Linked DNA regions of Homo sapiens: regions 1, 2, 4, 5, 6 and 7 are each linked to region 3. Evidence: promoter capture Hi-C in human tissues and cell types (Jung and others, 2019). All regions are on one chromosome and are shown on one strand. Each heading gives the region's core, a stretch centred on a gene start or on the middle of the fragment in contact. The rest is flanking DNA. Distances are from core to core; before and after follow the strand shown.

Region 1 (2,528 bases), core at 29-2,528, 240 kb before region 3:
AGCCTTCCCTAAAACCTGCCTCCAGCCTGGTGTTGGCAGAGCAGGCACTCCCCAGTGTCACACTGGGAGCTGCTGCTGAACCCTCAGAGAAGCCTCTTCCCCGCCCACTGCCAGTGCAGGGACACCAGGCCCCAGAAGCATAACTGTGGTCAGCAAGACCCTTGGAGCAGAGGGCTCAGGACAGACACGGCCACACCTGCAACCCAACACCCTGCAAGACAGCCGCCGCCTTGGCCCCTGCCTCCCCCCTCGCTACAGACAGAGTGACAGGACCGCAGTGAGGGGTGCCAACAGCAGGGGCTGCCCTGGGTGGCTGTGGCCTGTGCCCTTGCCTGGAGATGTCCCCGGCACACGTGCTCTGGTACTGGGAGCTCCGGGTGCCCGGAGGCCGGGACGGTGGGCTGGAGCACACAGCACGGGGACGTGGCGCACACAGAGCCCACAGGAAGAGCAAACGCTGCTGCCACCCCGGCAGGAGGGAGGGAGAGCCCGCGGGGAAGGGTCCTGTTATCCCTGGAGCACCACTGGACTGAGCGGTGCCGGCTCCCAGCGGGGTGCGCTGTAGGGGCCCCGACAACCCTCAGTGCGGAGGTCACAGAATTATCAGGGCCAAGGACACCCGGAGCACCTCGGTCCAATCCCCCAGGCTGCGAAGCGGATTAGGCCGAGCCCGCGCCCAGCCCCTCCCTCGTCCCGCGCACCACGGGTACCTTGTGGATCTCCTCCCGCAGCTCCTCGTCCGTCTGCTCGGCTTCTAGGGGGACAAAGAGACTCCACTGCGGACCCAGCAGGCCCGCCGGACCGCTGCGGGCCGGGCCCCCGGGAGGCTACGGCCGCTACCTGAGTAGTCCACGATGTGGGTGGGCACCTTCTCCGGGGTGACGTCCGCGGGGATGGTGATCTCCTCCGCGCGGGGAGGGACCTGCAAGGGACCCGCGCGCTCACCAGGGACCCCCGGCTGGGCCCGCTCCCACCCCCGCGGCGGGCGTGCCCCTTACCTCCTCGGGGAACTCCTCGCCCACCAGGGACAGGATCAGCGACGTCTTCCCCACCTGGGCTGCGCGGGGCGAGGCGGTCAGCGCGAGGGCCAAGGTCACGGCGCCCCCCGACCCCCGAGACCCTCACCCCGCCTCACGGCCGCCGCAGCTCCGAGACCCCCGGGCCGGCGCCTACCCTCGCCCAGTAACAGGATGCGCACGTCCCGCCTCATAGCTGCCGCCCGGAGCCGCTCCCCGACCCGGAACCCGGCCCCGACCTGGTCCTCAAGCCTTTCGCTCTGCCCCCGCGCCCGCCCCGCACTTCCGGTTCTCGGCCCCGCGCTGTCCCCACACTTCCGGCCCCGCCCGCACAGCCGCACCAGCGAGCCGGGCGGGCCAGAGCGGACAGGCTGTGCGGCGCGCCACCGTGTGGACGCGCCGGCCACGGCGGACAGCGCAGGGTCCTGGCGCCCTGGCAGGCCGAGCGGCCATTGCTTCACGGCACCACAGGGGCCTTGACAAACAGCCGATTAAGGGACGGGCAGAGGCTGAGCTCAGGCCAGGAGTGACCAGAGACAGCCAGTGCAACAATGCAGCAATAATGCAATAAATGCCCATGTTTATTACAAGATAGAAACATTAAAGATTTCTTAGGCAAAAGGGCAACAGGTATGAAAGTATTCACAGGGCGCCAAATTTACAACAGCTTGCTCCAGGCGATTTACGTGAATCCTGGCCTGTCCCAGCATGAGGCCATTGACAACCTGGCGCCTCTGCCAAGCCTGTGTCCAGGTGCCTGGCATGACCAGGCGTGATGCCCACCACCACAGTCCCTGCTGCATCTCAGAGGCCGGGGACCTCCCACACAAGGATCTCGTTGCGGGCGGCCGTGAAGAGCAGCCTGGCGGACGGTGTAAACCTGCACAGGTGCACTGCGTTGTCGTGGCCGGCAAAGTCTTGGGCAGTCCCCATGGCACAGTCTACCAGCCTCAGCATGCACTCTGTGGGTAGACGGTGCAGGTGGGCCAGGGCCAGGACCAGGCAGCACTCAGAGGGCTCCCCCAACCCACCCAGACTGTCCCCACTGGGCATGATGCTGGTCGGGGGAGCTGGTGCTAAAAGGGCTCCTGGCTGTGCCCTCCACGTGCCACTGGGACTAGGGGGTCCATCACTGCCAGGCTGTCGGCCTGCAGCTGGGCCAGTTCCCTCCTTAAAAGTCGCTGCCACCCGTGCATTCAGGCCCTGTGCTGGGCGCTGTGCCTGGTTCCTCACCTGCCTCATCATCTCCTGACTCCAGGACCCTCTCTAGGGCAGATGTCCTCACCCCACCCCAGAGACGAGGAGCCCGGGGCACAGGTGAGGCACCTGTCTTGGAACAGGGCACCAGTCAGCCCACTTGGCCCCCACCTAAGACAGGCCCAAACTGCATCCACCAGCACTCACCAGCAAAGCCAACAGCCAGGAGGTGGGTCCCGGGGGACAGGCTCAGGGACATGGCAAAAAAGGGCAGTGGTATCTTCTCCACCACCTGTGAGCAGCCAGCGTGAGGCT
Region 2 (3,383 bases), core at 7-2,506, 230 kb after region 3:
GAGTTAGAAGTATAGCACCACTTAGAATAGACAGTTTGTTACCACATTGTTAAAATCTAATGATAGGCTGGGTGGTTCAGGCCTGTAACCCCAGCACTTTGGGAGGCCAAGGCAGGAGGATTGCTTGAGTTGAGGAGTTCAAGCTCAGCCTGGGCAACATAGCAAGATTCCATCTCCATAAAAAATGTTTAAAGATTAGTCTGCCATGGTGGCACACGCCTATAGTCCCAGCTACTCAGGAGGCGGAGCTAAAGAGGCTTGCTTGAGCCTGGGAGGTCAAGGCTCCGGTGAGCTGTGATTGCGCCACTGCACTCCATCCAGCCTGGGTGGACAGAGCAAGACCCTGTTTCAAAAAAAAAAAAGTGGCCAAGCGCGGTGGCTCATGCCTATAATCCCAGCACTGTGGGAGGCCGAGGCGGGCGGATCGTGAGGTCAGGAGATCGAGACCATCCTGGCTAACATGGTGAAACTCTGTCTCTACTAAAAATACAAAAAATTAGCCGGGCGCAGTGCCGGGCGCCTGTAATCCCAGCTACTCCGGAGGCCAGGACAGGAGAATGGCGTGAACCCGGGAGGCGGAGCTTGCGGCGAGCCGAGATTGCGCCACTGCACTCCAGCCTGGGTGACAGAGCGAGACTCCGTCTCAAAAAAAAAAAAAAAGTAAATGTAAACGAGGCCGGGTGCAGTGCCTCACGCCTGTAATTGCTGCACTTTGGGAGGCCGAGGCAGGCATATCACAAGGTTAGGAGTTTGCGACAAGCCAGACCAACATGGTGAAACCCCGTCTCTACTAAACATACAAAAATTAGCCGGCCGTGCTGGCACGCTTGTAATCCCAGCTACTCAGGAGGCTGAGGCAGAAGAATCGCTTGAACCCAGGAGGCAGAGGCTTCAGTGAGCAAAGATCGCGCCACTGCACTGGGCAACAGGGCGGACTCTGTCTCAGGAAAAAAAAATGTAATGATAAAGCATTTTTTCATGTGTTATCTTCTTCATTAAGAAGTTTTAAAAATGAATGTGTTGGCCGGGCGCGGTGGCTCATGCCTGTAATCCCAGCACTTTGGGAGGCTGAGGCAGGCGGGTCACAAGGTCAAGAGATCAAGACCATCCTGGCCAACATGGTGAAACCCCATCTCTACTAAAAATACAAAAATTAGTTGGGTGTGGTGGCATGTGCCTGTAATCCCAGCTACTTGGGAGGCCGAGGCAGAAGAATAGGTTGAACTCGAGGTGGAAGTTGCAGTGAGCCGAGATCACGCCACTGCACTCCAGCCTGGTGACAGTGAGACACCGTTTCAAAGAGAAAAAAAAAAGTATTCCCATTTCCTAAAAGTGTCCCTTCAATTTTTAAATTACCAATACTGAGCTCATATAAAGGTGATTTGTTAAGTAGCATTCACACTCTGGTTTGTGTAACTTGCTCTTCCTCATTTTTTGTTTCATTTATTTAGAAAACTGTCGCTGAAAAGCAGGAGAAGAGAAATCAGGATCGCTTGAGGAGGAGAGAGGAGAGGGAACGGGAGGAGCGTCTGAGCAGGAGGTGAGCCTGAGGGCTGGCACTGGATGGCCTGCATTGGCCTCGGGCATTCCCTGCTCGGTCCATTCCACTGTTGCTTGGAATAGGCAGGGCCTGCCCAATAGGCCGTTATAAAAGAAAATAGTAAGGCCAGGCCTGGCGGCTCACGCCTGTAATCCTGTCAGTTTGGGAGGCTGAGGCGGGCAGAACACTTGAGGTCAGGGGTTCGAGACCAGCCTGGCCAACATGGTGAAACCTTGTCTCTACTAAAAATACAGAAATTAGCTGGGCGTGCTGGCATGAGCCTGTAATCCTAGCTACTCGGAGGCTGAGGTGGGAGAATCACTTGAGCCCGGGAGGCAGAGGTTGCAGTGAGCCGAGATCGTGCCACTGCACTCTAGCCTGGGCAACAGAGACTCCATCTCAACCAAAAAAAAAAAAAAAAAAAGTAAACAGCATATTCAGTCCAACAAAACAAAACAAAACACGTCCCAGCGCAGGACTGTGTGTGCATGGCAGTCAGGTAAGGGATCCAAGCTGTTGGAGGCTGTGTGTGGGCACTGCTGTTTACTTACTGAGTGCTATGGGGCCATTGGACACCTGTTTACGCAGGAGGGGTGGTGCCTGCTCCCCTTTGGCAAGCGTGCTGGGCTGGAGTAGAAGCAGCAGGACCTTGGGGAGCTAGGTGGGAAAATCCAGATGGAGGAGGTGGCAGTTTAAGCCAGGTAAGGGGTGCAAGGAGTCGGGGAAAGTTCTGGGATAGAACTGATGGGATTTGCTGGTAGTGTGTGAAGCGTGCAGAGGAGGAAATGAAGCTGGTCTCCTGGTTTCTGGCCCGGAGTTGCTGCTTGGTGAGGTTGGAAGGCTGGGTGTGGTGTATTGGAGTGGGAGGAGGTGGGAAGTAGAAGATGCCTCTGGCCACACTCAGCTTGAGAGGCCATCTTGAGGTGGGGCTGTTGAGTCTGTTTGGAGTTCAAAGAGGTAGGAGCCAGAAGTATCCACATCCTCCTGGAGACAGCTCATTGTCCAGGAAGGTTCCCAAACCACTTTTCCTGAAATAATTCCTCAGTGCATAACTCAGGGCGAATGTTTATTGTGTTTGTTTTTGAGACAGGGTCTCGCTCTGTCACCAGGCTGGAGTGCAGTGGTGCGATATCGGCTCACTGCAGCCTCCACCCCCTGGGTTCAAGCGAGTCTCCTGCCTCTGCCTCCCAAGTAGCTGGGACTACAGGCCTGTGCCATCACGCCCAGCTAATTTTTGTATTTTTAATAGAGACAGGGTTTCACCATGTTGGCCAGGCTGGTCTCGATCTGTTGACCTCATGATCTGCCTGCCTCAGCCTCCCAGAGTGCTGGGATTACAAGCGTGAGCCACCACGCCCGGCCGTTTGTTGTTTTACCAGCAGGAGATTCTGATTGGAGAGAAACTTAAACAGTATAGAAGAAAATATTAAGCAAAACACACAATCCATTTTTTGCATGGAGTTTACATTTTTACATGCACTGTCATGTTTAGGCCATTTGTGTTGCGGATGTACATGGGGCCACTTGACCTTAATGGCTTACGGGCATAGAATGAGGCCTCATAGCTTGCCTTTTTCAGCCTCTTGGTTGTGTGGCAGAATGAGCTGATGACTCTCACCTGACAGGAAGCCTGTGCCTGGAACTTCGGGCTTTGCTTTTCCTTTTCTGTGTTTTTGGTGTGCCCCACTCGCTGTCTGCACATTCTGTGCTGGTGTCTGTTGTAAAGACTGGAGAATCATTTGTAGGACTTGAGTGCAGCACAGTCAGTGTGCACAGACTTTTCACGGCCCTTGTAATGTTACAGGGCTGCGTCTGATGCTCGGATGTGGGCCTGTCTGTGAGG
Region 3 (3,325 bases), core at 1-2,500:
AGCGCAATTCAACCAGAAATCCAGGGCCGAAGTGGTGAATAAGCAGAAAAAGCAGGACCGTCAGGTCTTGACAGTGCCTTTCCCGACTCCAGGGGCAGCGTCGACCGGTCCCACATCAACCCCGCCGGCCAGCGCGCACCTGCCCAGTTCCCACGCCCCGGCCCGGGCCGCTCCGTACCTGCTCTGCCCCGTAGACCGTAGCAAACTGGATGAAGTCCTCGATGCGGACGAAACCGTCCCCATCCCCGTCCAGGGCATCGAACACGGCTCGGAGGCGGGGGCCGTCCTCCTGACTCCCCACGGGCTCGCTCGGAAGGGGGTGGGTCTGGCTGAGGTCCGAGGGCTGCGGCGGGGACCCGGGACCTTGCTCCAGCGCCAGCTCGCCCGCCGTGGGCGCGGGGAAGGGAGAGAAGACGTCGACCTCGCCCCGCGCTCGGTGGCTGCTGCTGGACCCCTGCAAGCGGAAAGGCGCGCTCTCCGGGCAGCTCGCGGGGCCACACTCCTCGGGCTCCTCAGTCCAGGAGAACAACGGGTCGAGTTCTGGAAGCGGCGCTTCGGAGCGCGGCCCTGGGCCCGGGGCGTCGGGGCTCGCAAGCTGCCCCCGCGGGCCGGAGCGCGGCGGCGGGGCGGACGGCCCGGGGTCTCGCGGGCCTCCCTCCAGCCCCGGGGCCGGCCCGGCGCTCCAACGCGCCCCGCCATCTGCAGCGGCCCCGGGCGCAGGCTCATCCAGGCCCGGGGACTGCGGGTCGGGGCCGCCGACGGGCGCTCCGAGGCGTAGCTCCGCAGGGCCCGGAGCCAGTTGTGCCGCCCCCGGCCCGTCCGGCCCGCCCGGCTCCGGGTCGGGCCCCGGCGGCTCCGAGCCCGGGGGCGAGGCCGGCGGGGCCGACGCCATGCTCCCGAGAGGCTAGTGGTGCGGAAGGGCGCGGGCGGCAGACAAAGGCGCTCAGGGCGCGGCGGCGGGCGCGGGCATCCCCTCGGCGGCGCGGGCGGGCGCGCGCGGGGCGCCCGGGCTGCTGGGGCTGGCGCTCGGGCCCTGCTCTGTCCTCGCCCATCTTCGCACCGCGCCTCAGCTGCCCTCGGCCCGGCGGCGCGGCGGGCGCAGGCCCATGGCGGCGGGGCGGCCTAGGGAGGGCGGCGAGGATCCGGGCGGCGGATGGCGGGGGACGGGGGCCGAGGAGGCCGGGGGACGGGGGCCGAGGAGGCCGGAGGCCGCGGAGCCTGTGAAGCAGGATGAGGAGACTAAGGAGGCTGAGGCGCCTGAGGTACCCGGAGAACTAACGCCGCCGCCGCCCAGGCCCCGCCCCCCGTCGGGCCTGACGTCAGCACGTCCCGGCGGGGTCCCAGCCCCTCGCCGGCTTGCTGTAGAGGCAGGCGCCGGGTGTGTCGCGGCAGTGCAGCGGCCGCGAAGGGGTGTTTTGCTGTATGTCATATTCCTCGTTTCGCCAGAGCGGGGGTCCCGAGCTTCGGGCGCGGGACGCGGGGGTGCTCCGAGGCTGCGAGTGGAGGCGTGACGTGACGTCCCTGGCAAGAGGCGCGCGGAGTCAGGCCTTACTTAGAACGTGTTCCCGCCGCACAGCTACCAGCGGGCGCGACCGCTACCCACGCATGGTGCGGTCGAGTAAACGGCACCGCCTGGCGAGCGAGAGACGCAAAGGGACATAGCCCCCTAGGAGCTGAGCTCTTCGGGGGTAAAGCGTTCTCACGTTGATGAGACCAGGAGGCGGCGCACGCCTGGCTCCGCGGCCCAGGGGTTGCAGGTGCCCCAGGGTTCGCGGGGCGCAGACGCCGCAGAGGGCGACGCCCTGCCCGGGTCCCGCGCGGACCCGGGGGACGCAGGGTCTGACACGGAGTGCGGAGGGGCCCCAGACACGCAGTCCATGTCCCTTGAAACCAGAGGCACGCGCGGCCACGCGCTAGGCCTTTCCCTTAAGCCTGTGACCAAGATCTCCGGGACTCCCAGCGTTGGGACGGGCGCGCTGGCCCACGCCCAAGCGGGAGGATCGCTTGCGCCCAGGAGATTGAGACCAGCCTGAGCACCAAAGCGAGACCTCGTCTCTACAAAAAATAAGACTCAAGAAGACACCCAGGGTGAATCGCCCGTCTGCAGCCAGCCTCCCGAGCACCGTGGCCGCGTCTGACAACTGACCTCTGTGTCTGGGTGTCCCTGTCCTCAGAGGGACACGGGACCTCAGAAAGGACCACAGCCCGGCGGCAGGCATGATGGTGGGAAAGCTAGTTAGGACAGGTGAGGCACTAAATTTAGCCTGTCATAATTTGTATCAGGGAAATGATGAACTTGTATTTTTACACACCATGGGCACCAACACAAGATATGGTTTCGTAAGCAGCTTTGGCAAGAACCAAAGGAACGGAACCTCTGCTTCCAAGTGTACGGTCAGGAGCAGCGTGTTAATTAAGTGAGTCATCTTCCGTGGCAGAATCCCAGGGTACATGGGACCAGACTTCGCGAGGCTGGCATTAGGAAAAGGAATGTGAGGGATCCTCCTCCCCAAACCGTATTCTCATTTTCTTGTAAGAGCTGTACGTGTTCATGAGGAAGATACTGCATTCAAAGAACGAAATCACCAGCAGCTTTGGCAAGAATTCAAATTTGGGCTGATGCCTTCGGCCGGATAAAATTTTCAGAAGCAGTGATAGTGATGTGTCAACCTTTCTAAATAGGGGTGTTAGTGTGGGCGAGGCAGAGACAGCAGGCTCCCTCTGCTTTTATGTGCCGGCGCTGCCAGAGGCAGAAGGCTGGCTTTCTGAGAGCAGGGGCCCGCACGCTCTGTCTGTGCTAGGGCTGGAAAACGTCCATTGCGTGCCCGGCTGGTGTCCTCCATGGAACCACAGCCTGGAAGCCTGCACCTCCCTGCCTGGACCAGTTAGAGGCTGTTCATGAAAGACTAAAGGGACAAGTTCCCGTCTATCCGTCTGCTGTTCAGAGCTACTATCTGTGTCCCCTTTGTAGGCTGTGGGCTGTAGCAGTTCCTTCTTTTCTTTTCTTTTCTTTTTTTTCCCCGAGACAGGGTTTTGCTCTGTTGCCCAGGCTGCAGTGCAGTGGTGCGACCATAGCTCACGGCAGCCTCAACCTCCTAGGCTCAAGAGATCCTCCCACCTTAGGCCAGGTGTGGTAGCTCATGCCTGTAATCCCAGGACTGTGGGAGGCTGAGGCGGGCGGATCACGAGGTCAGAAAATGGAGACCATCCTGGCTAACACGGTGAAACCCCGTCTCTACTAAAAATACAAAAAAACAAAAATTAGCCAGGTGTGGTGGCAGGCACCTGTAGTCCCAGCTATTTGGGAGGCTGAGGCAGGAGAAAG
Region 4 (3,735 bases), core at 1,236-3,735, 180 kb after region 3:
CTTGAGCCTGGGAGGCAGAGGTTGCAGTGAGCCAAGATCGTGCCACTGCACTCCAGCCTGGGCAACAGAGCAAGACCCCCATCTCAAAAAAAGAAAAAAACAAAAACAAAACAAAACAAAACAAAACACCAATCGATCGAAAAAAAAAAAACACCAGCTGGCTGGGCATGGTGGCTCACGCCTGTAATACCAGCACTTTAGGAGGCCAAAGCGGGCGGATCACAAGGTCAGGAGATTGAGACCATCCTGGCTAACACGGTGAAACCCCATCTCTACTAAAAATACAAAAAATTAGCCGGGTGTGGTGGCGGGCACCTTTAGTCCCAGCTACTCGGGAGGCTGAGGCAGGAGAATGGCGTGAACCCGGGAGGCAGAGCTTGCAGTGAGCCAAGATCGCACCACTGCACTCCAGCCTGGGCGACAGAGCAAGACTATCTCAAAAAAAAAAAAAAAAAAAAAAGCCACCACCTACTCAGGAGGCTGAGGCAGGAGAACTGCTTGAACCCAGGAGGCAGAGGTTGCGGTGAGCCGAGACTGCACCACTGTGCTCCAGCCTGGGTGAGAGTGAGACCTCGTCACAAAAAAAAAAAAAAATCCACCAATCAAGATAAACTCCAAATGAATTAAAAATGTAAACATTATTATTATTATTATTATTTTTTTGAGACAGAATCTTGCTCTGTCACCTAGGCGGGAGTACAATGGCGTGATCTTGGCTCACTGCAACCTCTGCCTCCTGGGTTCAAGCGATTCTCCTGCCTCAGCCTCCTGAGTGGCTGGGACTATAGGCACCCACCACCACACCCACCACCGCACCCAGCTAATTTTTGTATTTTTAGTAGAGACGGTTTCACCATGATGATCAGGCTGGTCTAGAACTGCTGACCTCGTGATCTGCCCACCTAAGCCTCTCAAAGTGCTGGGATTACAGGCGTGAGCCACTGCGCCTGGCCAAAAATGTAAACATTATTTTTAACAAACATTAAACTAAAAGAAAATAGAAGAGAATGTTTATGTATTGTTAGGGAAAGTCTTGAACGCATGACCCCAAAGGTGGAAATCATTAAGAAAAACACTGATGAACTAAATATATTATGAAATGTCTAACCCAAGCTTGTCCAACCCTCGGCCCAGGATGGCTTGAAGTGTGGCCTAACATAAATTCAGAAACTTTCTTAAAACATTCACAGATTTTTTTGCAATTTTTTTTTTTCAGCTCATCAGCTATCATTAGTGTTAGTGTACTTTATGTGTGGCCCAAGACAATTCTTCCAACGTGGCCCAGGGAAGCCAAAAGATTGTTGTTAGCTCCACAAAACAAACCAGGATAAATATTCTTAGGGTTTTCACAAACCCACAAAAGAAAGGCAAGGACCCCAGTGGGGAAACAGGAAACGAATTCATAACTGGGCAGTTCACTGAAGAGCACACGCCAGTGGCCGGTGCCCAGGGGAAACACACTCAGTCTCACTCATAGACACAGCAGGACCAATGACATTAACAAAAGTTAAGCATTTCATTTTATCTGATCTTGAGACAGGGTCTCACTCTGTGGCCCAGGCTGGAGGGCAGTGGTGATCTAGGCTCACTGCAACCTCCTCCTGCTGGGTTCGAGAGATTCTCCCACCTCAGCCTATAAAGTAGCTGGGACCACAGGTGTGCATCACCGCGCCGGGCAAATTTTTGTATTTTTTGTAGAGACAGAGTTTCGCCACGTTGCCCAGGCTGGTCTCAAACTCCAGGGCCCAAGTGATCTGCCTGCCTCAGCCTCCCAAAGTGTGGGCCACGCCCAGCCTAAAAGTTAAGCATTTTAAAATGTGTTGGTGAGAATATACGATAACAGGTCTGCAGTACAATAGTCGTGGGAATTTGAAATGGTAGTTATTGGTCGAGCGCGATGGCTCATGCCTGTAATCCCAGCACGTTGGGAGGCTGAGGCGGGCAGATCACCTGAGGTCGGGAGTTTGAGACCAGCCTGACCAACATGGAGAAACCCCATCTCTACTAAAAATACAAAAAAAAATTAGCCGGGCGTGGTGGTGCATGCCTGTAATCCCAGCTACTCGGGAGGCTGAGGCAGGAGAATCACTTGAACCTGGGAGGCAGAGGGTGCAGTGGCCAAGATCGTGCCATTCCACTCCAGCCTGGGCAACAAAAGCAAAATTCCGTCTCAAAAAAAAAAAAAAAAAAAAAAAGAGGTTACCATTCAGGGAAGCAGACTTCAGGGTCCAGCCCTGTGCTATTTTTACAACATTTTGTGAATCTATAAGTAGTCCAAAATAAAAAGTATAAAATAGAAAATCAAAAGAGAAAAGAAAACCGTTAGTAAGGGGGAGTGGGGTCAGAGGTTCATGTAAGTTTTAGAGGAAGAACCAGCTTCTCCACAGGCAGCTTGGTTTGTGCCTCAAAGCTACCTTAATATGAAGCTATTTTGTTCCAAAGGCAGGAGTCCTTTTAGTGTTTTGTTTATTTTTGGAAGAATATCAATAGTGGAGTTTTGTGGTAGCCTGAAGAAATACTGAAAGAAGAGCCAAACCCCTGGCATGTTACAATTCTCCATTACAAAATAATCACCAGCTTCCTCAAAACCATCCATTAAAATCATTTTCCGACCGGGCGCGGTGGCTCACGCCTGTAATCCCAGCACTTTGGGAGGCCAAGGCGGGTGGATCACAAGGTCAGGAGATCGAGACCATCCTAGCTAACACGGTGAAACCCCATCTCTACTAAAGATAGAAAAAATTAGCCGGGCGTGGTGGCGGGTGCCTGTAGTCCCAGCTACTCAGGAGGCTGAGGCAGGAGAATGGTGTGAACCTGGGAGGCGGAGGTTGCAGTGAGCCGAGATGGCACCACTGCACTCCAGCCTGGGTGACAGAGCAAGACTCCGACTCAAAAAAAAAAAAAATCATTTTCCTTTCCACTGTGGGGAAAAAACGGATATGCACAGCATTTATAACAATACTCCCCAAATACTTACCTGAGCAAATGCCAGAGTTTAAAAGGGGTCGTCTCCAAAGTCAGACAATGTGGTGACAATGAAAATGCCCCAAGGGGTGGGAACTCTTACTGCTATACAGCCTCTGCACATGCTTTCACACCGGCCTGGCCACAGAAAAGGGGTGTGTGTTTAACACGAATAAGGCCTGTCTTTGGAAAATTAAAAAGCTGGTCAGGAATTCCTTCACAGGATCTCCAGGTAAGACTTCCTTTTTGGAAACTTGACTGAGCCACCAGAAATAGGGGTAGTTATTAAAAGCCACAACGGCAAGGCAGCCAAAGCCAGGCAGTTCATGATTCAACCAGTTTGCAAATAAAGACACCATGAGACAGGTCCAAAGATTTGCTCATCAACAGCAAGAAGATACCAATGTTTTTCTCTACTGCGGTCATTAAAAATACCAGGAGCCGTAGCCAGAGCTTCAGGAACCTGACTGGCAGAGAAAATCCCCATGGACCCAGGTCAGAGAGACTTGAGCAGGGCACTGTCCTTGCTCTACTTTAGCATCCATACCATTGACCACAGAGAGTCAGGCCATGTGGCTATTTAAAAAAACAGAAAACAGAACTCAACAAGCTAATAACCAAAAATTTAACTTCATGGCCGGGCAGGGTGGTTCACGCCTATAATCCTAGTGCTTTGGGAGGCTGAGGCAGGAGGATGACTTGAGGCCAGGTGTTCGAGACCAGTCTGGGCAACATGGGGAGACCCCATCTCTACAAAAAGTAAAATAAAAT
Region 5 (3,800 bases), core at 794-3,293, 220 kb before region 3:
ACAACCTACGGGCTTCCCTGGGTCCCTGCACCAGCTGCAGCCAGCACACCACTGGGTCCTTTCCCAGCCCTGCCCTCTCCTACCGAGCCCCACGCACCCTACAGGCCTTAACCTGGGTCCCCGCTGACCCCCCAGACCCACCTGCCTCAGGAGGGGAACAGCTCTTCTCAATCGGCTTGGAAGGCACTTTCAAGCTCTCACTTGGAAACCTTGGCAGGCAGAGGGAGAGTCAGTGTCTGGGGGCCCAAGGGCCACCCACCCTCCCACCACCGAGGCCTCCCTCGAAAGAAGCAGAACCACTCACCGGACGTGGATGTAGCGGTCATGCCAGCTCTCTCCCTTGGGCACAGGGAATGCCATTTCCCGAGGCATAGGAGTCACGGGCAGCTTTGCCCACTGGGCCCCAGAGATGGCTACAAGGAGCAGGGTTGTTCCAGGTCAAGGGAGGCTGTTTAGCCACCTGAACACAGGGCACCCGCCAAGGCACTGCCACGCCACCAGCCCAGCCACCGCCCCACCCCAGGGCTGCCTCTGGGATGGGTTCTGACCCCAGGGCTGCCTCTGGGATGGGTTCTGGCCAGAGCTCAGAGACAGCACAGCTCGAGCACTGTATTTTCCCAAGCACCCTGGACTTGGGCCTCTCCAGGGCTGAGAGCATGGGTGAGATATGGAGTGGGGAGTGCAGGTGCGGCCCTCACCAGGCTCAAAGCACAGGTCACTGGTGTACAGGTTCCTGACCAGCAGGCTGGCGCACAGCCTGATGCTCTTGAGATGGCCGTAGCACCGGTTCAGGTAGACCAGGAGAACGTCCTGCAGATCGAGCTGCAGGCAGGTCCAGCGGGCTCCGGAGGGGGCCAAACCCACCAGATCTGCAGGATGGGCACTCAGGGTCAGCGCCCACCCTCCTGACAGCCCGCGACTCCCAGAACTGTGAGCTTGTGCCCCCGCCAGGTTGTCCTCCAGGCCGCAGAGGAGCCTCACTGGGCCTGCACCAACTCCCTCCAGCCACCTGTCCTGGATCATCCACACCCCATCTTGGTGTCACCTCTCTGAGGTGTCCTGGCCTCCAGGACCAAGGGAAACTGGAGCCACGTGGCCGTAGACTTAAACTCCTTGAAGAGGTTGGAGAAAGACACACGGATGACTTGGTTGTCCTGTGGGGACGGAGCAGGGCCGTGAGGAGACAGGGGCCGCAGGGGTGCCGGGGCTCCCACGCAGCCCCCAGCCGCGGGCTCCGTACCTTGGAGGACACATCGAGGTGGATGACGAAGTGCTTGCTGGGCAGGGGCCGAAAGAGCACATACAGGTATCGTCCCGTCAGCCCCAGAGACTGGGTGCTGCTCTTAGGGAGCTGGATGTAGTTGGCGGCAGAGACTGAGCCCCGAATGCGATACACGGCGCCCTTCAGGGTCTTGTCCTGGAGAAGCGGGAGCCCGCATCACCGACAGCACCCAGAAGAAGTGCAGCGGGGGCGAGGGGGCCCTCGGGGGCGGGGCAGCTCTCCTGGGGGCAGGGCAGGGGTGTGGGCTCCGGGCGAGCCCCCGGCCGCCTACCGTGACCACGGCCACGTCCCCCTGCTTGGCGGAGCGCTTCCACTCGTCCACCCGGAAGTGTCTGAAGACGTTGAGGAACGGGTGCTGCCACGCTGCGGGGAGCGGGCGCCGGGCGTCAGGGGACTCGGCCACGCGAGCCGGGGCCACTGCGGGGCTGGGCCGGGCCTCGGGGACCAGGCAGGAGCCGGGGCTCTCCGCGCCTTCCCCGGCGACGCCAACGCCAGCTAGGCTGGCGGGACGAGGCCGGGCGCCCGAGGGAAGCCAAGCTCCGGGAGCCCGAGGGTGGGCGCCCGGCAGACGGGACCCTGCCTGAGCGGGGACTCTGGCCTCAGGGCCTAGGCGGGGGCCCTGAGCGCTCCGGCCGCCGACCCTGGACCCCGGAACCCCGGAACCCGGGATCCTCGGGACCCCCGCCAGCCGCGCGCTACCTCGGGCCATGGCGCCGCCGCTCGAGCTTCCCGCCTAGGCCTCCGCGCGCCCAGCGCAGAGTACGCCCCGCGACGCCAGGCAACGGCTGCCTGGCAACGGTGCCACTTCCGCCATTACTTCCGCCGTCATGGCGGCGCCCTGGCCACGTGACCTCCCCGGTGGGAGTACCCCGCTCACGTCAGCGGCCTCCAGGGTTGCTCCAGCCGCGAATCCCGCTGCCCTTTGCCCCGCGGGCCTCCCAAGGCAGCCCCCTGTTAGCCCGACCGGCTTCGAAGCCCGCGCCGGTTGCGGATCCTCCGCCGCGCCCACCTGTCAGCGCCTCGGCCGGCCGGGGCTCCCGCCGCATGCAAGCAGCGAGGCGAGGTCGCGCTGAGGCCTGGCCATGCCACGGACGGCCGGGCCTCACCCTGCCGCTCTCTCGCCGTCCAGAGGCCCCTGCTCCACACCTGGGTACCCTGGGTCCTGACTCAGGTGGGCTGGGTCATCCCCGTCCATCAGGGAAGGTAGTGCGGGCGCCCGCGGAGGGGCTGGTTCCCACGTTCGTCCTATCAGGTTCCCCACGTACTCCTTCGCCCAGTGTCCTGCGGCCGGGCCCGGCGGATTCAGAATGGGACCTGGCGTTCTGAGACACAGCCCCAGTGCCGGTAGTGGGGGGTGGTGGACTGCACTCCGGGGCCATTTAATGTCTTTAGGCCTTGAGTCTCGGCTTCGGTCCCAGTCAACGCCAACGGGAGAGGAAAGAGGAACCAAGTGGGGTCCCCAGACTTCCAAGCAAGGTGGGCTGGCTAACGTCCCTCCTACCTGTCGCAGGGCAGCTGGGTGAGAAGCTAACGGCTTGAAGGAACAGGGCTACAAGGGGAGTTTGTGCTGGGCCTGGCGTCCCAGGCTGTGGACTGGAACTGGACATGAGAACCCCCCCTACACCCTCCCAAGTCAAAGACACTCCAAAAAGACAGTTTCTCCACTTTATTAGCCTGGAGCTCCTCCCTGCCAGCCCCAGGGGCTGGTCGCTGGTCCCTGGGCACAGTGAGCAGGGCTGAGGTCAGACGGGTTCGGCCCTTGGCCATGGCAGCTTGGTTGGGACAGCCGGGCCAAGGGAAAAAAAGGTGCAAAAGTCCAAATGCTGGCACTTCAGGTGTGGCCGGCACCCAGCCAGGCGCAGTGGGTGGGCAGGGCGCCATGCTTCTCTCCTGGCGACAGGTCGGCCGTGTAGCAGCGCCCCCTCCCAGCAGCCACTAGGAACAGCTGGTGATTCTCGCCAGGAACTGCTGCGCCCACCACTCGTCTAGGTCAATGGGCACAAAGTCTGTGGGCAGAGAAGGCTGGGCAGTGATGCTGCCTCCCAGGCCAGCCGGCAAGTCTCCCCTGGAGCTAACCACAAGCCGCTCACCCGGACTCCGAGTGCGGCAGGCGCTGGGAAGAAGGGGTTTCTGCACAAGAGTCCCCTCCCTCATCCCCTGGGGTGGGAACCTGGCAGGGCCTGGGTCAGGATCAGAGGGGCTGGGGGGTCTCTCCTGGGGGGACAGGGTTGGGGGGCTCACTCTGCAGCCGGGGATTGGGGGTCCTCTCCACGTACTGCACAGGCCTTGGCCCGCCCTCACCGGCTGGGCCACCATCCAGCTGCTGTTGCACCTGCTGCCAGGCTGTGGGAGGAGGGCAGTCGGGCTGAGCCAGGTCCCAGGCACCCCATCGCCCACCCAGGGCCTGATGGTCACCCTGGACTCCAGCCCCACACAGGGCTGGTCACAGGACACAAGGGCAGAGTGCCAAGGAAAAGCACAGCCATGCAGCGGCTGTGGGTCAGCTTGAAGTGGGGCC
Region 6 (3,392 bases), core at 32-2,531, 210 kb before region 3:
GGCTGGACATCGGCTGCAGCACCCCCACCACCATCTGCACTGGTCCCGGATGGAAGGAGGGTGGGAGGACAGGGAGGACAGTGGATGGAAGGAGAGGGTGGGAGGAGAGGATGGAAGGAGAGGGTGGGAGGAGAGGATGGAAGGAGAGGCAGTGACGGGGTGGGAGAAGAGGATGGAAGAAGTGGATGGGAGGAGTGGATGGGAGGAGTGGATGGGAGGAGAGGGTGGGAGGAGAGGCAGTGAAGGGGTGGGAGAAGTGGATGGGAGGAGAGGATGGAAGGAGAGGCAATGACGGGGTGAGAGAAGAGGATGGAAAAAGTGGATGGGAGGAGTGGATAGGAGAGGATGGAAGGAGAGGCAGTGATGGGGTGGGAGAAGAGGATGGAAGAAGTGGATGGGAGGAGTGGATAGGAGAGGATGGAAGGAGAGGCAGTGACGGGGTGGGAGAAGAGGATGGAAGAAGTGGATGGGAGGAGTGGATGGGAGGAGAGGGTGGGAGGAGAGGATGGAAGGAGAGGCAGTGAAGGGGTGGGAGAAGTGGATGGGAGGAGAGGGTGGGAGGAGAGGGTGGGAGGAGAGGCAGTGACGGGGTGGGGGTGGTCGCCGAGGATGATGGTGCCCCAGGGTGGAGGCACATGGGGAGCATGAAAGCTGGAGTGGGGAGGGCTCTTATTCTTAAGACAAATGAGGGCAACGATGGGGGTGTCTCTGGGCCCCTTAAGGGGCCCAGACCCAGACCCCCCAGAAGTCTGGGGAGCCCAGGCAGAAGGTGGCACCTCCAGCAGGGTCTTGCCCAGGCTGGCTGCTCTGAGCCCCAGGACCCCGGCCCGACCACACTCACCTGGTCCCTGCTACACTCGCGCTCACAGGTGCTCTGGGCGTCCACCCACAGGTTGGGGCTGAGCTGGTTGGGGCACACGCCCGGGTGGCTCCCCAGCCCTGGCAGCAAGCCAGCCCCCGAGGTCAGCCGGAGGAGGAGCAGGAGCGGCAGGAGTGGACGTAGGGCGGGCATGAGGGCCGCCGAGCCAGGGGGCCGGGGGGTGTGGCCACCAGCCCCTCCTCGGGCTCCACAGAGCCCAGCTTCCTGCAGGCATCCACCCTCCGGGCCTGTGGTCGGTGCCCCCACCAGGACCCCGGGGCTCCCTTTTGCCCCTGAGGCTGAAGCCTGCAGCAGATGCTTGTCCTGACACCCCTGCTGGGTGGGTAACGGGGTCTCCAAGTTCTCAGAGGCCGTCTGTGTGACGCTGGTTCCTCTCCAGCTTCAGCCTGGCCCCTCTGTCTGAACCGTGCGGGGGCTCCCAGGCCCTGGTCAGCACAGGGCAGAGGGGAGGAGGTTGGGGAGGGGCCAGAGGCCCATGAGCACAGAGCCACTGGCCATGAGGGTCACCGGGGCGGGGAAGGGCTGGCTCTGGCTGGAGAGGGGGAGGGGAGGGGACCCTGTAACCTGAACCCCTTCGTCCACCCCTGGGCTGAGATCAATCTCCTTGACGACCCTCAGTAGGGTGGGGGCAGGGCCAGCAGATCCCAGCTTTTGTCCCTGGCGCCCTCTGGACCCCAGGCTCCTATGCCATGGGGGTGGCAGGCACGGGCCCTCCCCGCAGAGCGTGGCTGACCACAGCCTGGGTCCCCCGGGCCAGGTCCAGGCTGGCAACGGTCACGTGCGGCCGAGGGCTTCACTCCGCTCCGAGGTTCCTTCCCCCCTCCATGGCTGTTTCAGGGGCACAGGGGTCTGCAGGACGCCCAGCACAGCCCGGCCTCCTCTGCTCTGCTGCCCCTGTTGGAGTGGGGCCCAACCCGGCAGGACTGCATTCCCAGAGACCCCATCCCTGAAACCAGGCAGCGGGCTTGGGGCTCAGGCCTGTCCCCAAGGCGGGGCAGGTGCAGCAGGAAGAGGCCTGTGGCCACCACAAGCATAAGAACAGCCCGAAACGCTGATGCCGGAGCCTCGGCCCACGCACCGTGTAGCCCTGGACGTGGCTCCGCGTGGGATGGCACCGCCCGAGGGAAGGCCAAGTGCAAGGGCGTCTGCAGCTGAAAAGAGCAAGTGTCCCAGGGCACCAGAGCCTTGCCCTGCCCCAGCCCCCCGTCGGCGGGGCACACATCCCCAGGCTGGCTCCTCTTCGTTGGGGAGGGCAGGGGGCTGGCCTGCCTGGTGCAGCAGGACAAAAGGCTGCCTGGAATCTACCCTTCCAAACCCTCTGTGGCTCCAGATGTCTGGGGCCTCAGGGAGTGGTTCTCTTGAGACCGGATGGGAGTGTCCCCCTGACCCTGTGTCTGACCTCTGACCCAGGAGGCAGGGTAACAGGAGCCTGGTCTGGTCAGAATGAGACCCGGAGACGGCTCCAGGCGCCAGTCCCTGCTCTACAAGGAGACTGGGGGTGGGCCCTGATAGCGTGGGGGTGGGGGTAGCTAGGCCAGACCCAGCAGCAGGCGGCTGGGCTGGAGCTGCCAGGGAGGGGCTTAAGGCCCGGACATGCCCACGAAACAGCACAGGGAGGCACCTGAGCCAGAGGCTGTGGTCTGGTCCCTGTACCAACTGGAGTGCCCCGTTCCAGCTCAGCTGTGACCTCCGGGGCGTCCACACCCCCCTGGGCCGGGCATAGCAGACACCAGATTGGCCAGCGTGCAGGCGGCTCTGCTGAGCGGGCCGACTGACTGGAGGACCTGGCCCTCTGGAGTCCTGCTGCTGTTGGGGACAGTCCGCCCCAGGCCATCTGCTGCCGGGGACTGTGAGCGAGGGCTCAGCACAGCCCAGCTGGGATTCCATCCACCGGGAAGAGGAGAATGGCCGTGACCAGGCCCAGCTGCTCCAGCCCAGCTCCAGCCCTCACTTTGAGGCGAACCCAGCCAACCGCGGCAGGTCAGCCCGGTCAGCGCAGGGAACAGCAGGCAAAACAAAGGCCAGAGGTCAGTTTGCCGGGTATGAAGCAGCACTGGCCCCTGGCACGGGGCACCGCCACTGCCAGACCCACCCCACCAGACACAGCAAAACGTGGGGACCACAGCTGAATTACATTTACTGTACAAAGAACGGTTCGGAGAGAACCAGGAATGGCGGAGTGTCTAACAGCAGCGCGGGTAGTGTTGATGCCGTGAATGCAGGACCATCCAGGTCCTCAAAGTCTGTGAGGTTTGTTCATAATCCCAAACAAGGGCCCTGCTGGCAGCAACAGGACAGGTGGGGCCAGGACAGGGAAGCTGGAGCAGGAGGCCAGTGTCTTTGGGGGCTGTGGCAGGGCCGCCTGCCTGGGGTTCCCTTACTCATCTGGTAGTTCATGCAGGCCACGGCCCTCATCTCCCAGGAACGGGCCATGGGGCGAGTCCACTGGTGCCCAGTAACACCCTCCGTGGGACCACCTTGGGAAGCATGTGCCGCGGAGTCCACCACGGGG
Region 7 (3,752 bases), core at 899-3,398, 180 kb before region 3:
GAGCCCAAGAGGTAGAGGCTGCAGTGAGCTGAGATCATACCACTGCACTCCAGCTGGGGCAACAGAACGAGAGTCTCAAAAAAAAAAAAAAGAAAAAGAAAAAAGAAGAACTCGTTCACATCAGCATTATTCGTAATACCCCAAACCAGGAAATAACCCAAATGTGCATCAACAAGGTAAATGCATAAACAAACTGGGGTATATTTGTGCAAAGGAATACCACTTGGGAACAAAAAAAGAAGAATCTACTATTGTACATCATGAATAAGTTTCAAAACTGCTGAGCAAAAGAAACCAGGGTCTGCTTCGTATCCATGATGTCTGGAACAGGAAAAAGCAGCCCATGTGATGGAAGCCGACTGCTGGGGGCTGGGGGCTGACTCGGCAGGGCCTGAGGGGCTTTCTGGGAGGAGAGTGGATGTGCTCCTGATTTGGATGAGGGTACTGGCTGCATAGGTACATATATGTGCCAAAACTCATAGAACTGTACATGCAAAGAGGGTACATTTATTAAATAGACATCATCTCTCAATAAAATTGATTTAAAAAAATTAAACCCACAGGGCATTGATCTGCTTTGAATTTGGAGGTCTAAGGATTAGGGGACCGGATTACCCTACAAGACAGCCTGAACACATATCAGAGCCAGATGTGAAGGCACTGCCTGTCCCTGAAGACCTGGGGCTCTAAGTCATTCACGTGCGGGGCCGGCGCTCCGCATTCAATCTTCCGGCATACCACTCCCCTCGGATGTCTTCTGAGACAAGGACAGCCCACGTCCACCAACCCCACTGCAGGCAAACCGGCGCCTGCCTGATGGAGGACAGTAAAGGAAGGAAAAGTTATCTAACAAATTTCAAATGTGTCTGTGTACACCAGCATGCCAAATGTCAGAAGAAATTCTAGGGCAGTTTGTGGACTGGTTTCCTGCGAAGCTAGAGCTTTTACTTAACGCCTTAAAACCCACAACAAGCCAAAAGGGCTCTCGTGTCTACAAAGAGCAGGCACACTTGGCACAGAACACCTGGCTAAACACAGAACATTAAGAAAACAAAAAACACAGGTCTGGCCCCAGCTACTCAGGAGGCTGAGGCAGGAGGATTGCTTCAGCGCCACGGTTCAAGACCAGCCTGGGCAACACAGTGAGACCCTATCTCTTAAAATTCTCCTCTCCCATCTTTTAAGGAGCAGATCCCATAGCTCTCAGATTACTTTCAATGATTACAAATCCAGCTTAGTGTGGCTTAAACCCCAATCTCATGTCCACTTTAAGACTCATTTCTGGCTGTGCTTGGTGGCTAACACCTGTCATCTCGACACTTTGGGAGGCCAAGGTGAGAGAATCACTTGAGCCCAGGAGTTCAAGACCACTAGCCTAGGCAACATGGCAAGACCTCAATTCTACAAAAAATAATTTATTGGCCAGGCACAGTGGCTCACGCCTGTAATCCCAGCACTTTGGGAGGCCGAGGTGGGTGGATCACTTGAGGTCAGGAACTCGAGACCAGCCTGGCCGACATGGTGAAACCTCATCTCTACTAAAAAAATACCAAAAAACTAGCCGGGCGTGGTGGCAGGTGCCTGTAATCCCAGCTACTCGGGGGGCTGAGGCAAGAGGCTTGAACCCAGGAGGCAGACGTTGCAGTGAGCCAAGATCGTGCCATCACACTCCAGCCTGGTGGACAAGAGCAAGACTTTGTCTCAAAAATAAAAAAATAATTTATTAAAAAATTAGCCAGGTGTTGTGGTGCATGCCTATGGTCTTAGCTACTTGAGAGGCTGAGGCGGGAGGATCACTAGAACCCTGGAATTTGAGGCTGCAGTGAACTATGATCACTGCACTCCAGCCTGGAAGAGTGAAACTGTCTCTCTAATAAAAAAAAACAAAACCAAAAAAAAAAAAACAGAGATGACCACTGCTAATGTTGTCATATATTTCATTCCACAATTATTTTACATACTTAAGATATCAAGCATATACACTTCATTGAATAATCATTAAATGTGCCTCCAAATCAGTAGTTTTTTGTTTTGTTTTGAGAGCTGTTGCCCAGGCTGGAGTGCAGTGGTGCAATCTCGGCTCACTGCAACCTCTGCCTCCTGGGTTGAAGCGATTCTCTTGCCTCAGCCTCCTGAGTAGCTGGGATTACAGGTGCCCGACACCACACCCCGCTAACTTTTATATTTTCAGTAGAGACGGAGTTTCACCATGCTGGCCAGGATGGTCCCAATCTCCTGACCTCGTGATCCACCCACCTCGGCCTCCCAAAGTGCTGGGATTACAGGCGTGAGCCACCGCATCCGGCCTTTTTTTTTTTTTTTTTTTTTTTTTTTTTTACTTTTTTTTGCAGGGATAGGGCCTTGCTACGTTGCCTAGTCTGAACCCCCGGCCTCAGGGGATCGCCTGCCTTGACTTCCCAAGTAGCTGGGATTATAGGCGTGCACCACCGCACCCGGTCCTGTGTTGTGATGTTTTACTATTTGATAAACTTATAAGCATTCCCTCTCATGTAATTTTAGGATAACAATTCTATTTTTCATGAGAATCTCCTGTCTGAACACTGCATGCATGGCCCTAGTGAACTGACTGAGACTAGGGGAACAGTCCCAGCAACGATCACATTGCTCTGCTGACGCGGCTGCGGCGGGGACCTGCCCGGAGTCTGGCACCCAGGGGTGCTCAGCACACACCTGAGCAAACTCACACTCTGAGCCGGATCCTGGCGACCCGGGCTCTGGAAACTGACGTGTGGACACTGTTGCTCCCGAGCAGAACAGCCTTCTGCCCAGCCCACCTAGGGCAAATGTAACACCTCTAACAGGCTGGACACAGACGGTTTCTCCTGCTCTTTCATTTCAATTCAGAAAGGATGCACACTTTCAGAATGAGCAGATACTCGGTGATACAGCCTTGATGGTGTGGATAACACACAAAAAATCATAGTTTTTGGTACTACAATTTTTTAAAAGTCAAACCAGCTCCACACACACGTGGGAGCTACAGCTTCTATCTCTGTTCCAAACACAAGCAGCAGGCCCATTTACTGAACGGTGAGGAAAACTACATCAGGAGAGAAGAGCTTTAACGCTAATGACCAGGAGGTGGCTCTGCAAGGAGGCTAAGGGTCTAAATGCAGAGGCAGACAGAGGGGCAGGCTGCTCCTGGGGTGCCAGAGGGCCCCTTCCTCCACAGCAGTCCAGGAGAGCCTCACGCAGCTGCCACACACCAGGCTCTGCCACAGTTGTGACTGCCAGCTCTTCAGAAGACAGAGACTGGAGTCAAAACCTTTCTGTTTCCCCACAGGCAAAACCTGGGCAGTCACCGCTTGCTGATAATGAATTATGTGTTAAACTGTCTGTGTGACGCACGTAGGCACCAAAGCTCTTATTTTTATTTTTTTGAGATGGAGTCTCACTCTGTCGCCCAGGCTGGAGTGTAGTGGTGCAAACTCGGCTCACTGCAACCTCCGCCTCCCCAGGTTCAAGCGATTCTCCTGCCTCAGCCTGCTGAGTAGCTGGGAATACAGGTGCATGCCACCAGGCCAAGCTAATTTTTGAATTTTTAGTAGAGACGGGGTTTCACCATGTTGGTCAGAACGGTCTTGATCTCTTGACCTTGTGATCCGCCCGCCTCGGCCTCCCAAAGTGCTGGGATCACAGGCGTGAGCCACCGTGCCCATCCGGCACCAAAGCTCTTTAAAAAAGTCCAACAACAATGTTTTAAACTCGGCAGGTTAGGTGACATCCATTTC

What was found. Contacts are between HindIII fragments. The study calls those that stand out against the background at their distance.
Region 1: the fragment with the promoter of RHOT2 here is called in contact with the fragment with the promoter of RAB11FIP3 in region 3 in 2 of the 25 tissues and cell types used here (IMR-90 fibroblasts and thymus).
Region 2: a fragment that was not itself captured here is called in contact with the fragment with the promoter of RAB11FIP3 in region 3 in 2 of the 25 tissues and cell types used here (lymphoblastoid cells and spleen).
Region 4: a fragment that was not itself captured here is called in contact with the fragment with the promoter of RAB11FIP3 in region 3 in 7 of the 25 tissues and cell types used here (dorsolateral prefrontal cortex, hippocampus, liver and 4 more).
Region 5: a contact is called between the fragment with the promoter of WDR90 here and the fragment with the promoter of RAB11FIP3 in region 3, in 5 of the 25 tissues and cell types used here (IMR-90 fibroblasts, dorsolateral prefrontal cortex, lymphoblastoid cells and 2 more).
Region 6: the fragment with the promoter of WFIKKN1 here is called in contact with the fragment with the promoter of RAB11FIP3 in region 3 in 3 of the 25 tissues and cell types used here (dorsolateral prefrontal cortex, mesendoderm cells and small bowel).
Region 7: a fragment that was not itself captured here is called in contact with the fragment with the promoter of RAB11FIP3 in region 3 in 2 of the 25 tissues and cell types used here (dorsolateral prefrontal cortex and lymphoblastoid cells).

What each region holds. Positions count from the first base shown.
Region 1 is chr16:666,882-669,409 of GRCh38, reverse strand. It overlaps RHOT2 (ras homolog family member T2), which reads right to left and starts at 1,278. Exons shown (of 19, transcript NM_138769.3): 1 at 1,174-1,278; 2 at 999-1,057; 3 at 841-922; 4 at 711-754. The coding sequence starts at 1,210. WDR90 (WD repeat domain 90) reads right to left here. Exons shown (of 41, transcript NM_145294.5): 40 at 2,421-2,505; 41 at 1,580-1,978. The coding sequence ends at 1,821. RefSeq lists silencers at 811-900, 1,001-1,100, 1,161-1,500 and an enhancer at 886-1,567. The HindIII fragment of the contact is 52,780 bases long and covers 1-2,528 here.
Region 2 is chr16:191,084-194,466 of GRCh38, reverse strand. LUC7L (LUC7 like) reads left to right here. Exons shown (of 10, transcript NM_201412.3): 7 at 1,452-1,540. Among named protein-coding and RNA genes, the nearest start is that of HBQ1, 12 kb to the right of the region's middle. The HindIII fragment of the contact is 8,652 bases long and covers 1-3,383 here.
Region 3 is chr16:423,574-426,898 of GRCh38, reverse strand. RAB11FIP3 (RAB11 family interacting protein 3) reads right to left here and starts at 1,250. Exons shown (of 14, transcript NM_014700.4): 1 at 179-1,250. The coding sequence starts at 892. The HindIII fragment of the contact is 17,968 bases long and covers 1-3,325 here.
Region 4 is chr16:243,143-246,877 of GRCh38, reverse strand. All of the region lies in intron 1 of FAM234A (family with sequence similarity 234 member A), which reads right to left. Among named protein-coding and RNA genes, the nearest start is that of FAM234A, 10 kb to the right of the region's middle. The HindIII fragment of the contact is 7,678 bases long and covers 1-3,735 here.
Region 5 is chr16:647,608-651,407 of GRCh38, reverse strand. WDR90 (WD repeat domain 90) reads right to left here and starts at 2,043. Exons shown (of 41, transcript NM_145294.5): 1 at 1,982-2,043; 2 at 1,554-1,645; 3 at 1,241-1,417; 4 at 1,046-1,154; 5 at 699-869; 6 at 305-413; 7 at 142-209. The coding sequence starts at 1,991. It overlaps MCRIP2 (MAPK regulated corepressor interacting protein 2), which reads right to left. Exons shown (of 5, transcript NM_138418.4): 4 at 3,524-3,625; 5 at 2,934-3,288. The coding sequence ends at 3,218. LOC105371038 (a long non-coding RNA gene) reads left to right here and starts at 2,095. Exons shown (of 2, transcript NR_135177.1): 1 at 2,095-2,453; 2 at 2,793-2,950. RefSeq lists silencers at 1,669-1,798, 1,909-2,008 and enhancers at 1,184-2,006, 3,429-3,478. The HindIII fragment of the contact is 7,525 bases long and covers 1-3,800 here.
Region 6 is chr16:628,874-632,265 of GRCh38, reverse strand. WFIKKN1 (WAP, follistatin/kazal, immunoglobulin, kunitz and netrin domain containing 1) reads right to left here and starts at 1,281. Exons shown (of 2, transcript NM_053284.3): 1 at 842-1,281. The coding sequence starts at 1,012. It overlaps RAB40C (RAB40C, member RAS oncogene family), which reads right to left. Exons shown (of 6, transcript NM_021168.5): 6 at 2,998-3,392. RefSeq lists enhancers at 1,188-1,922, 2,103-2,397, 1,923-2,656. The HindIII fragment of the contact is 11,828 bases long and covers 1-3,392 here.
Region 7 is chr16:600,401-604,152 of GRCh38, reverse strand. The region is part of intron 1 of RAB40C (RAB40C, member RAS oncogene family); the gene reads right to left. Among named protein-coding and RNA genes, the nearest start is that of RAB40C, 12 kb to the right of the region's middle. The HindIII fragment of the contact is 6,657 bases long and covers 1-3,752 here.